Regions from separate parts of the Homo sapiens genome. Here regions 2 and 3 are each linked to region 1. The links are contacts of gene promoters, found by promoter capture Hi-C in blood cells and fetal thymus (Javierre and others, 2016). All regions are on one chromosome and are shown on one strand. The core of a region is centred on a gene start or on the middle of the fragment in contact, and the rest is flanking DNA. Distances in the headings are between cores, read along the strand shown. Region 1 holds the start of CHP2 (calcineurin like EF-hand protein 2). Region 2 overlaps LOC105371143 (a long non-coding RNA gene). Region 3 overlaps LOC105371143 (a long non-coding RNA gene).

What was found. Contacts are between HindIII fragments. The CHiCAGO score rates a contact against its expected background, and 5 or more counts as called.
Region 2: a fragment that was not itself captured here is called in contact with the fragment with the promoter of CHP2 in region 1 in 2 of 17 cell types (M2 macrophages and naive CD8 T cells); the score reaches 5.9 in M2 macrophages.
Region 3: a fragment that was not itself captured here is called in contact with the fragment with the promoter of CHP2 in region 1 in 1 of 17 cell types (M0 macrophages); the score reaches 5.1 in M0 macrophages.

The regions. Positions count from the first base shown.
Region 1 is chr16:23,753,380-23,756,527 of GRCh38, forward strand. It overlaps CHP2 (calcineurin like EF-hand protein 2), which reads left to right and starts at 1,647. Exons shown (of 7, transcript NM_022097.4): 1 at 1,647-1,737; 2 at 2,282-2,354; 3 at 2,468-2,548; 4 at 2,684-2,814; 5 at 3,009-3,070. The coding sequence starts at 1,671. RefSeq lists an enhancer at 1,535-2,180. The HindIII fragment of the contact is 3,392 bases long and covers 1-2,531 here.
Region 2 is chr16:24,490,957-24,494,104 of GRCh38, forward strand. The region is part of intron 1 of LOC105371143 (a long non-coding RNA gene); the gene reads right to left. Among named protein-coding and RNA genes, the nearest start is that of RBBP6, 47 kb to the right of the region's middle. The HindIII fragment of the contact is 5,778 bases long and covers 1-3,148 here.
Region 3 is chr16:24,469,894-24,473,041 of GRCh38, forward strand. It overlaps LOC105371143 (a long non-coding RNA gene), which reads right to left. Exons shown (of 4, transcript XR_950928.3): 3 at 1,851-1,947. Among named protein-coding and RNA genes, the nearest start is that of RBBP6, 68 kb to the right of the region's middle. The HindIII fragment of the contact is 418 bases long and covers 1,515-1,932 here.

The sequences.
Region 1 (3,148 bases), core at 397-2,896:
ATTTTTAGTAGAGACTGGGTTTCTCCATGTTGGTCAGTCTGGTCTCAAACTCCTGACCTCAGGTGATCCGCCCGTCTCGACCTCCCAAAGTGCTGGGATTACAGGCATAAGCCACCGCGCCCGGCCTCTTTTCTTTTCAAGACAGGGTCTCACTCTGTCACCCAGGCTGGAGTGTAATGGCGTGATCATGGCTCCCTGCAGCCTCAACCTCCTGGGCTCAAGTGATCCTCCTGTCTCAGACTCCCAAGTAGCTGAGACTACAGGCATGTGCCACGACACCTGGTTAATTTTTTTTTTTTGTATTCTTTTGTAGAGATGGGGTCTCACTATGTTGCCTAGGCTGGTCTTGAGCTCCTGGGCTCAAGCAATCCTCCTGCCTCTACCTCCCAAAGTGCTGGGATTACAGGCATGAGCCTCCACGTCTGCCCTGAAATTTCAATATCACAGCTATACTGTATATCTATTTATGTGCTGTATGTATGCTGTGCTTTGTACATAAAAAATATGTTTTATTTTTTGCCCCGTTGGGGTGAGATAGAGACCGCACTGAGAATGCACGCTTTACATAATTAGTTCACAACTTGCCCCCGGCAGCCTCCACCACGTAAAATTAGAAGAAAGCAGCCCAGCAGGGCCTACAAGGAATGTGTGAACGGATGCACGTAAAGTGCTTAGCAAAGCGTGGTAAACAAGAGCCCTTGTTGTCATTCTTGCTTTAAGCCTAGTCCCAGTGATGTCTGTAACCCTCTCTTGGGCCAAGGAGTCCCATGGCTCTGGAGGGCTGTTCAGAGGACTAAGTCATTCCCAGTCTGGAGCTCTACGGGATCAGTAGGTACCTAAGGGAGTGAATTGGGCTTGGAGGGACTGTGGCCAGAAGACAGCTCTGGGCCTGGTGGTGATAGAACTTCTGATTTCTCAGGAAAAGCCAAGAATGTGGATTTTGGGTTAAATCTCCTGAATTTTAAGCATTGGCTCAATTAAACAACAATAAGGCAATGTGAACCGAACAAAAGGGATGAAACCAAGATTTACTGACTTTCCCAGAGTCACGGGCACGGCTGGGATTCCAACAAGGACTCCCAAACCAGTGCTCTTTCCACTTAACCTAACGCACACCCTTCATCTCGCCGCCCCTCCCCACTTCCCCGTCTTTGGGAGTTCTTCGATGCCTCTTCCCCCCTCCCCCCAGGATTCCCTCCCCATAGGCCACCCGCCTTCCAGCAGGGCGTGGTCTCTACAGAGGAGGTCAGGTCTCCCAGGCTTCCTCAGCGTCGACGCCGGGGAGCGCCCTGGGGTTGGGAGCGCCCGGGGCCCGCGAAGGAGGAGGTGGCTCAGGTGTCAGGGCGCACCGTGGGAACCGGCCCCGGGGGAGGCGTGGAAACGCGGGGCCTGGGACTCGACCAGCCTCTCCCGTGCGGATCGCAAAATCTCGGAGCTGAAACAGCCCGTTGTTCGCAGCCTCCCTCTGACCCGCCACCCTGCACATTGTTTTCCATTCGCCCGGGTCGCGGGTGGGAGGAGAGGCACGCCGGGGTTCTGGAGCTTGGCCGCGCGCCAGGCTTGTGGCCTTCGTCCCCCTGGGGCCACTGGGGCGGCCACGCCTCTCCGGCGGGAGGAGAGAACGCGTGGGTCCGGGTGGCTGCTCCGGCCCTTCCGCCTCCAGCTCGGCCATGGGGTCGCGCAGCTCCCACGCCGCGGTCATTCCCGACGGGGACAGTATTCGGCGAGAGACCGGCTGTGAGTGCGCCCGCGTCGGCGGCTGCGGAGGGGACGGGGCGAACCCAGGCGTCTGGGGCTAGGGAAGGGGTTGGGTTGAAGGATGGACGAACTTACAAGTCTGGGGTCCGGGGCTCCCCGGAGCTGGAAGACCAAGGCCCCTGTGCCTGGGATCGCTGGGTTAGGGGCGGGTTAACCTAGGGGTCCCAGCCTCCAAGTCTGGGGAGGATCCGGGTTCACGGGGTCGGAGTCCAGAGGAATCCAGGCACCCAGGTGTCCTCCAGCCCGGCTCGAAGCTGAAGGCAGAGCTGACGGCGGTTGGAAGGGATGGCTTTGGTTCTTTGGTTTTCGGGAGGTTGCGAGCCGCCCGGGTCTTGAACCTGGATCTTCGCGGGGTCGTGTCACTCTCCCTCCGCCCCGGCCAGCTCAACCCCTGATTCCCCGGGATGATCGCCCCTTCCAGCCAGCCCCCGCTGTTCTGGCCCATCTTCCTGGCCTGTTGGGGCGGGTTTCTGGAGCTGGCCCTGCAGAGTCACACACCCCCACCCCACTCTCCTTCCCGCAGTCTCCCAAGCCAGCCTGCTCCGCCTGCACCACCGGTTCCGGGCACTGGACAGGAATAAGAAGGGCTACCTGAGGTGAGGGGGAGCCGGCCTCATAACTTCTGGCCTCTGTCTCTCTGACTCCATGTCCCTCTTTGACCCTCCGTCTGGCATCTCTGCCTTACCCTCTTTGAAATTTGGCTTTGCAGCCGCATGGATCTCCAGCAGATAGGGGCGCTCGCCGTGAACCCCCTGGGAGACCGAATTATAGAAAGCTTCTTCCCCGATGGGTGAGGCTTGCTGGGCGTGGGGAGGTGAAGGCGGGAAAACCGGTGTGTGAGTGGGTGGGAGGGGAGGTTAGAGACGGAGGCAAAGTGATGGCCAAGGTGACCACCACCTCTTTCCATTCTGTCCCGTCTCCCCAGGAGCCAGCGAGTGGATTTCCCAGGCTTTGTCAGGGTCTTGGCTCATTTTCGCCCTGTAGAAGATGAGGACACAGAAACCCAAGACCCCAAGAAACCTGAACCTCTCAACAGCAGAAGGAACAAACTTCACTGTGAGTTTGTGAGGACCTGCACAAGTGAGAATGCAGATGTACCCACACCAGGGACAGGCTCCAGGGATCTCCCACTCCCTTCCTGAGGGCATTGACAACCTCCCCCCTCCTCCAAGGTGGGGGGAAGGAAGGTGGCTGCTGGAAGAGAGCCAGGGAAGACCTACCTTCCTTTCCCCCTCCCACCCTCTCCCCAGATGCATTTCAGCTCTATGACCTGGATCGCGATGGGAAGATCTCCAGGCATGAGATGCTGCAGGTTGGCAGAAAGCGAGAGCAAGAGATGTGATGTGTGAAGGATGGGATGGTTAAATGCAATGGTGTGAGAGATGGGGTG
Region 2 (3,148 bases), core at 385-2,884, 740 kb after region 1:
AGATAGGGAGGGTCTCCAGAGATTACAAGAATTTAATGAACTTGAGCAATCAGCCTGTTTTATAGCCTCCTGCCCTGAAGTCCTTTTCTTCCTAAACCTTGTATGGAATGCAGTCACCTAATCAGTTAAAACCAGCTCCTGGCAGACTCCCACAACTTACAGATGAACCCAAGTGAACATTCCTCATTACCATGCTAAAGTCTCCACCCCCAGAGGAGCTATAGCTTCATTACCTTAACATGCAACCTATGTGCTGGCATGATAGCTCAGCGCATCTGCACAACTGAGACCCCACTACACGCAATGCTGCACCCTCTCCCTTCTCTATTACCCCATAAAACTCGCCTATCACTTTCCCTTGGGAAGACACTGCTTTGGAGAATACTCTCAATGTTCTCCTTTACTTGTATCAAGTAATAAAACTCCTATTGATCCAAACCTACATCCCTATAAAGAGTCTTTGTTACTTGCCTGATGAAGAACCCCAGTTTTGTTTTGTTTTGTTTTGTTCTTTGGGATGGAGTCTCGCTCTGTTGCCCAGGCTGGAGTGCAGTGACGCGATCTCAGCTCACTGCAAGCTCCGCCTCCCGGGTTCACGCCATTCTCCTGCCTCAGCCTCCTGAATAGCTAGGACTACAGGCGCCCACCACCACACCTGGCTAATTTTTTGTATTTTTAGTAGAGATGGGGTTTCACCGTGTTAGCCAGGATAGTCTCGATCTCCTGACCAAGTGATCCACCCACCTCAACCTCCCAAAGTGCTGGGATTACAGGTGTGACCCACCTCACCTGGCCAAGAACCCCAGTTTTTTAGAACAACATTAGCATCTGTGCTCTAGAAAACATCCCACAATGGGCAAACCAAGGACAGATTCTCCACTAAAAGAGAACAAAGCTCATTTCCCCAGGAGAGATTAAGTTGGAGCTGGACACAAATAGCCCTGGGCCTTACAGCCATCTTCTGACATTAGTCACGGGAGTGAGGTCACCCCAGAACACAGAGGTTCAGAGCTCTAGAGCTCCACTGTCCATTGCAGTATCCATGGGCACATGTGGCCATTGGGCACTTGAAATGTGGTCAGTCTGCATTAAGTTGGGATCATTAGTATAAATTACACCCCAGTATTTTAAAAAACTTTAGTATGGAAAAAGAAAATAACGATGTTTTATATTAATAGCACACTGAAGTAACAGTAATTTAGTCATATTGGGTTAAATAAAACATTATGAAAATTGTCAGCCGGGTACAGTGGCTCACGCCTGTAATCCCAAAACTTTGGGATGCCGAGGCAGGCGGATCACTTGAGGTCAGGAGTTTGAGAACAGCTTGGCCAACATGGCAAAACCTCCTCTTTATTGAAAATACAAAAATTAGCTGGGCGTGGTGGGGGGCACCTGTAATCCCAGCTACTCTGGAGGCTGAGACACGAGAATCACTTGAACCCGTGGTAGGGGGTTGGAGGTTGCAGTGAGATGAGATTGTGCCACTGCACTCCAGCAGCCTAGGCAATAAAGCGAGACTCCGTCTCAAAAAAAAAAAAAGAAAAAAAAAAAAGAAAATTGTCATGGGTGTCTTTTATTTTTTGGTTGGAGTCAGTGGTGTGATCATATCTCACTGCAGCCTCAGCCTCCTGGGCTGAATCCATCCTCCCACCTCAGTCAGCTAATTTTTTTTTTTTTTTGAGACGGAGTCTCAAAATTTTTTAATTTTTTGTAGAGACAGGTTTTGCTATGTTTTCCAGGCTGCTCTCAAAATTCTGGCCTCAAGTAATCTGCCCTCCTCGGCCTCCCAAAGTGCTAGGATCACAGGCGTGAGCCACCGTGCCTGGCCTCATATTTATTTATTTATTGAGACAGAGTCTCACTCTGTCACCCAGGCTGGAGTGCAGTGGCACGATCTCGGCTCACTGTAGCCTCTGCCTCCTAGGTTCAAGCGATTCTCCTGCCTCAGCCTCCCAAATAGCTGGGACTACAGATGTACGCCACCACCCCCGGCTAATTTTTATATTTTTTTAGTAGAGATGGGCTTTCACCATGTTGGCCAGGTGGGTCTTGAACTCCTGAGCTCAGGCAATCTGCCCACCTCCACCTCCCAAAGTGCTAGGATTACGGGCTTGAGCCACCATGCCCAGCTATTTATTTATTTTTGTGGAGACAGGGTCTCACCATTTTGCCTAGGCTCATCTTAAACGGCTCAAGCAATCTCCCACCTTGGCATCCCAAAGTGCTGAGATTACAGGCATGTCCCACCACGCCGGCCTCTCTTTACCTTTCTAATGTGGCTAGCAGAAAGTTTAAAATTACATGTGTGGGTCAGATGACATTTCTCTTGGGCAGCACTTCCCTGGACAGGCAGTGTATCCCAGAAAGGCAGACCTGGGCTAGCCACAGAATCTTCAACCCCATCCCCAAGACTTGAGGCTGACAAGAAGTAAAACAAAGTGAAGGTGGAGGAGATGAAAAATGGGATGCAAAGAAACAGATGTGATATAGTCCATCTTTCTCTCTCTTTTTTAAAATATAGACTGGGTCTCACTGTGTTGCCCAGGCTGGTCTCAAACTCCTGACCTCAAGCAATCCCCCCAACCTCAGCCTCCCAAAGCACTGGGATTACAGGTGCAAACCACCATGCCTGGCCATCTTTTTTTATTTTTTAATTGTGATAAGAACACTAGGGGCCAGGTGCAATGGCTCACACCTGTAATTTCAGCACTTTGGGAGGCCAAGGCAGAAGATCGCATGAGGCCAGGAGCTCAAGACTAGCCTGGGCAGCATAGCAAGACCCCCATCTCTTAAAAAAAAAAAAAAAGAAAAAAGAACACAACATGAGATCTCCTCTCTTAACAGATTTTTTAAGTGTCCAATACATTCCTGCTGACTATAGGTAAATGTCATACGGCAGATTTCTAGAGCTTATTCATCTTGCTTGACTGGAGCTTTCTGCCCATTGATTAGTAACTCCCCATTTTGCCCTCCCCCAGTCCCTAGCAACCACCATTCCACTCTTTGATTCCGTGCATTTGACTATTTTAAATCCCTCCTATAAGTGGAATCATGCTCGGTACTCTGACGCCCTTTCCCGCTCACTCCTTCCCCACCCCGTCCTCTAGGCAACGCAACATGAGTCACCTACTCATTGCCTTAGGGA
Region 3 (3,148 bases), core at 474-2,973, 720 kb after region 1:
CCATATAACTTAATTCCCGTAGCTGCTACATTTTCCACTCAAAGACAGGAATGGCGTTTTAGTAAAGGATTTTATGGTATTCATTTTTGTGCATCTAACACAGAACCTACATGCAGTAGATGCTTAATAAATAAATATATAATTTTTCATTATTTGAATTGTGATTTATTGTCTATGCTAGGCACCAGAACGAATGAATGAATGTTCATTTCCAAGACAAACAAGAATAATCTCCAACAACATACAAACTTAAGATCCTAATCAGGGTTCATCCACAGGAATAGAGCTAAATATCACTTGCTAAATGATAATGTGGTATTCAACTAGCTCCATGTATCCTTTCAATGGCTCCTGCAGCTCTTCAAGTCCAAGAATTAAAGCCCTATTTGTGATCACCAGCAAAGATGCAAAAGCCCCTTGAACACCCTGCACACACATCTCCTCTATTGTTTGTCACACATACAGATACCCAGTTTATTACGAGGTCTGAACTCAGTGAAGGTATAAACACGAAAGCAGTTTCATTTTTCTCCAACTACTCACTACCTTTAACTACACAGTTGACCCAGTTGACCCCTGAACAGCATGGATTTGAACTGCTTGGGTCCACTTCTACCTGGATTTTCTTCTGCCTCTGCCACCCTTGAGACAGTGAGACCAACCCCTCCTCTTCCTCCTCCTCTTCACCCTATTCAGTGTGAAGAGGATGAGGATGAAGTCATCTATGATGATCCGCTTCCACTTAATGAATAGTAAATATGGCCGGGCATAGTGGCTCACGCCTGTAATCTCAGCACGTTGGAAGGCTGACCACTGCATTCCAGCCTGGGTGACACAGCAAGACTCCATCTCAAAAAAAAAAGAATCCTAAATATATTTTCCTTATGATTTTCTTAATATTCTATTTTCTCTAGCTTGCTTTATTGTAAGAATATAGTATATAATACATATAACACAAAACATGTGTTAATTGACTATGTTATCAGTAAGACTTCCAGTCAACAGTAGGCTACTAATAGTTCAGTTTTTGGGCAGATGCCGTGGCTCATGCCTGTAATCCCAGCACTTTGGGAGGCCAAGGTGGGCAGATCACGTGAGGTCAGGAGTCCAAGACCAGCCTGGCCAGCATGGTGAAACCCCATCTCTACTGAAAATACAAAAATTAGCCAGGCATCTTTGTGCACACCTGTAATCCCAGCTACTCAGGAGGCTGAGGCTTGAGAATTGCTTGAACCTGGGAGGTGAAGGTTGCAGTGAGCTGAGATCACCCCACTGCACTCCAGCCTGGGAGACAGAGTGAGACTCCATCTCAAAAAAAAAAAAAGAAAAAAGACAAGAAAAATAGTTAAATGTTTGTGGAGTCAAAAGTTACATGTGGATTTTTGACAATGCCTCTAAGCCTTGCATTGTTCAAGGGTCAGCTGTACTCCCAAATATTCCTCTCTCTTAGAAACATAGTTTTTAGTCCCATTACGGTATTTAAAAGCCTAACACAAGCAACTCAGTAAGTTTAAAGCTTCAATATCACATGCAATTTCAAGATCTTCTCCTCATAGCTCAGTTTGACCACTGGTCAAAAGGACCTTTGTCTATTTCTCTGATGGTTGCAGAATCTAGCTGATGCATGCATACATGTGCACATATGTGTGCACATACACACATACTGGCACATACTTATACTAAGAAATAATCTGCTGCTTATCTGAAATTCAAATGTAACTGAGAGTCCTATATTTTATGTGGCAACCCTACTTCCCACTCCTTCTTCTGGGTTTCCCATTCTCCTCCGAGGTGTTGGGCTCCAGGAAGAAAGATGCAGAGCGAGGAAGTGTGAACATCTTCTACTTAACTGCTGCTGCTGTAATTCTCCTTCAGCTGTCATCCACCGTGGTTGCAGCCTGCCAAATCCGGCTTTCCTCAGGCACTTGTACAAGCTTTCAGGCGGCCCTGCAGGGTGGCACATTTTCTCTAAGACAACTAGTCACGTGCTCAATGCCCATGAGTTCAAGAGCCTCCTTTCCTCCCACCCAAAGCCCTTATCCCCAAGGAGGTGAGATTAATTTCTGATCAGGTGGGCCTTGTGCCAGCTATTATTTAGTTGTTATCTCTCAACTCCAAACCCAACCTTCTGTATTCTGCTTTGTGATACAAGAGTTGGAATTGGGAAAAGCATATTTCTGCTGTTCCAGCTGCTTCCTGTGAGGTTCTACCCATGGGGGTGTTAGAGGGGAACTGCAAGGCTGGAGGAAAAAGGAACTTGCTCTTTCTGTTCCTGTGAACACTCTCCTAGCAAGGCTTCCTTTCTCCTGCAATGGCAGTTCCTTCCCATAGCAGCATCTCAATCCAGTTTGCAGTTTTCCTAACACTGGCAGAACCAGTCTAATTGCACCCCTCAAAGACTCCAACCCCCGTCCCTCCTTAGAGATCTGAGTTTCAGTTTGCAGGGCACTTTTCTCCTATTATTCTAGTGATTTTTTGGTTTGTTTGTTTGTTTGTTTGAGACAGGGTCTCACTCTGTCTCCCAGGCTGGAGTGTAGTGGAGTGTAGTTACAGTGAGTCATACTCACTGTAACTGGGCTCTAGTGATCCTCCTACCTCAACCTCCCGAGTAGCTGGGACCACAGGTGAATGCCACTCTGCCTGGCCAATTTTATTATGTTTTGTAGAGACAGGGTCTCACTATGTTGCCCAGTCTAGTCTCAAACTCCTGGCTTCAAGCAATCCTCCCACCTTGGTCTCCTGAGTCTCTGGGATTACAGATATGAGCCACTGCACTTGGCTGATTCTAAGTGTTAATGCCAACCTTTTCTCATTGTTCCCCCAGACCTCTGAGTATAGCTGTTTCCTTCAGTTGCTTCTTCTGTGATACATTAATATTGTTGTTGGGTTGGTTTTGTTTTGTTGTTTTTTTTTCCTTTTTAGTTGCCTGGTTATCAACTTGATTCCTAGTTAACAATTCTCGGCCAGGCGTGGTGGCTCATGCCTGTAATCCCAGCACTTTGGGAGCCCGAGGACAGGGGATCACTTGAGGTCAGCAGTTTGAGACCAGCCTGGTCAACATGGTGAAACCCTGCCTCTACTAAAATACAAAAATTAGCCAGGCGTGTTAGCGAGTGCCTGTAATCCCAGCTGCTCCGGAGGCTGAGGC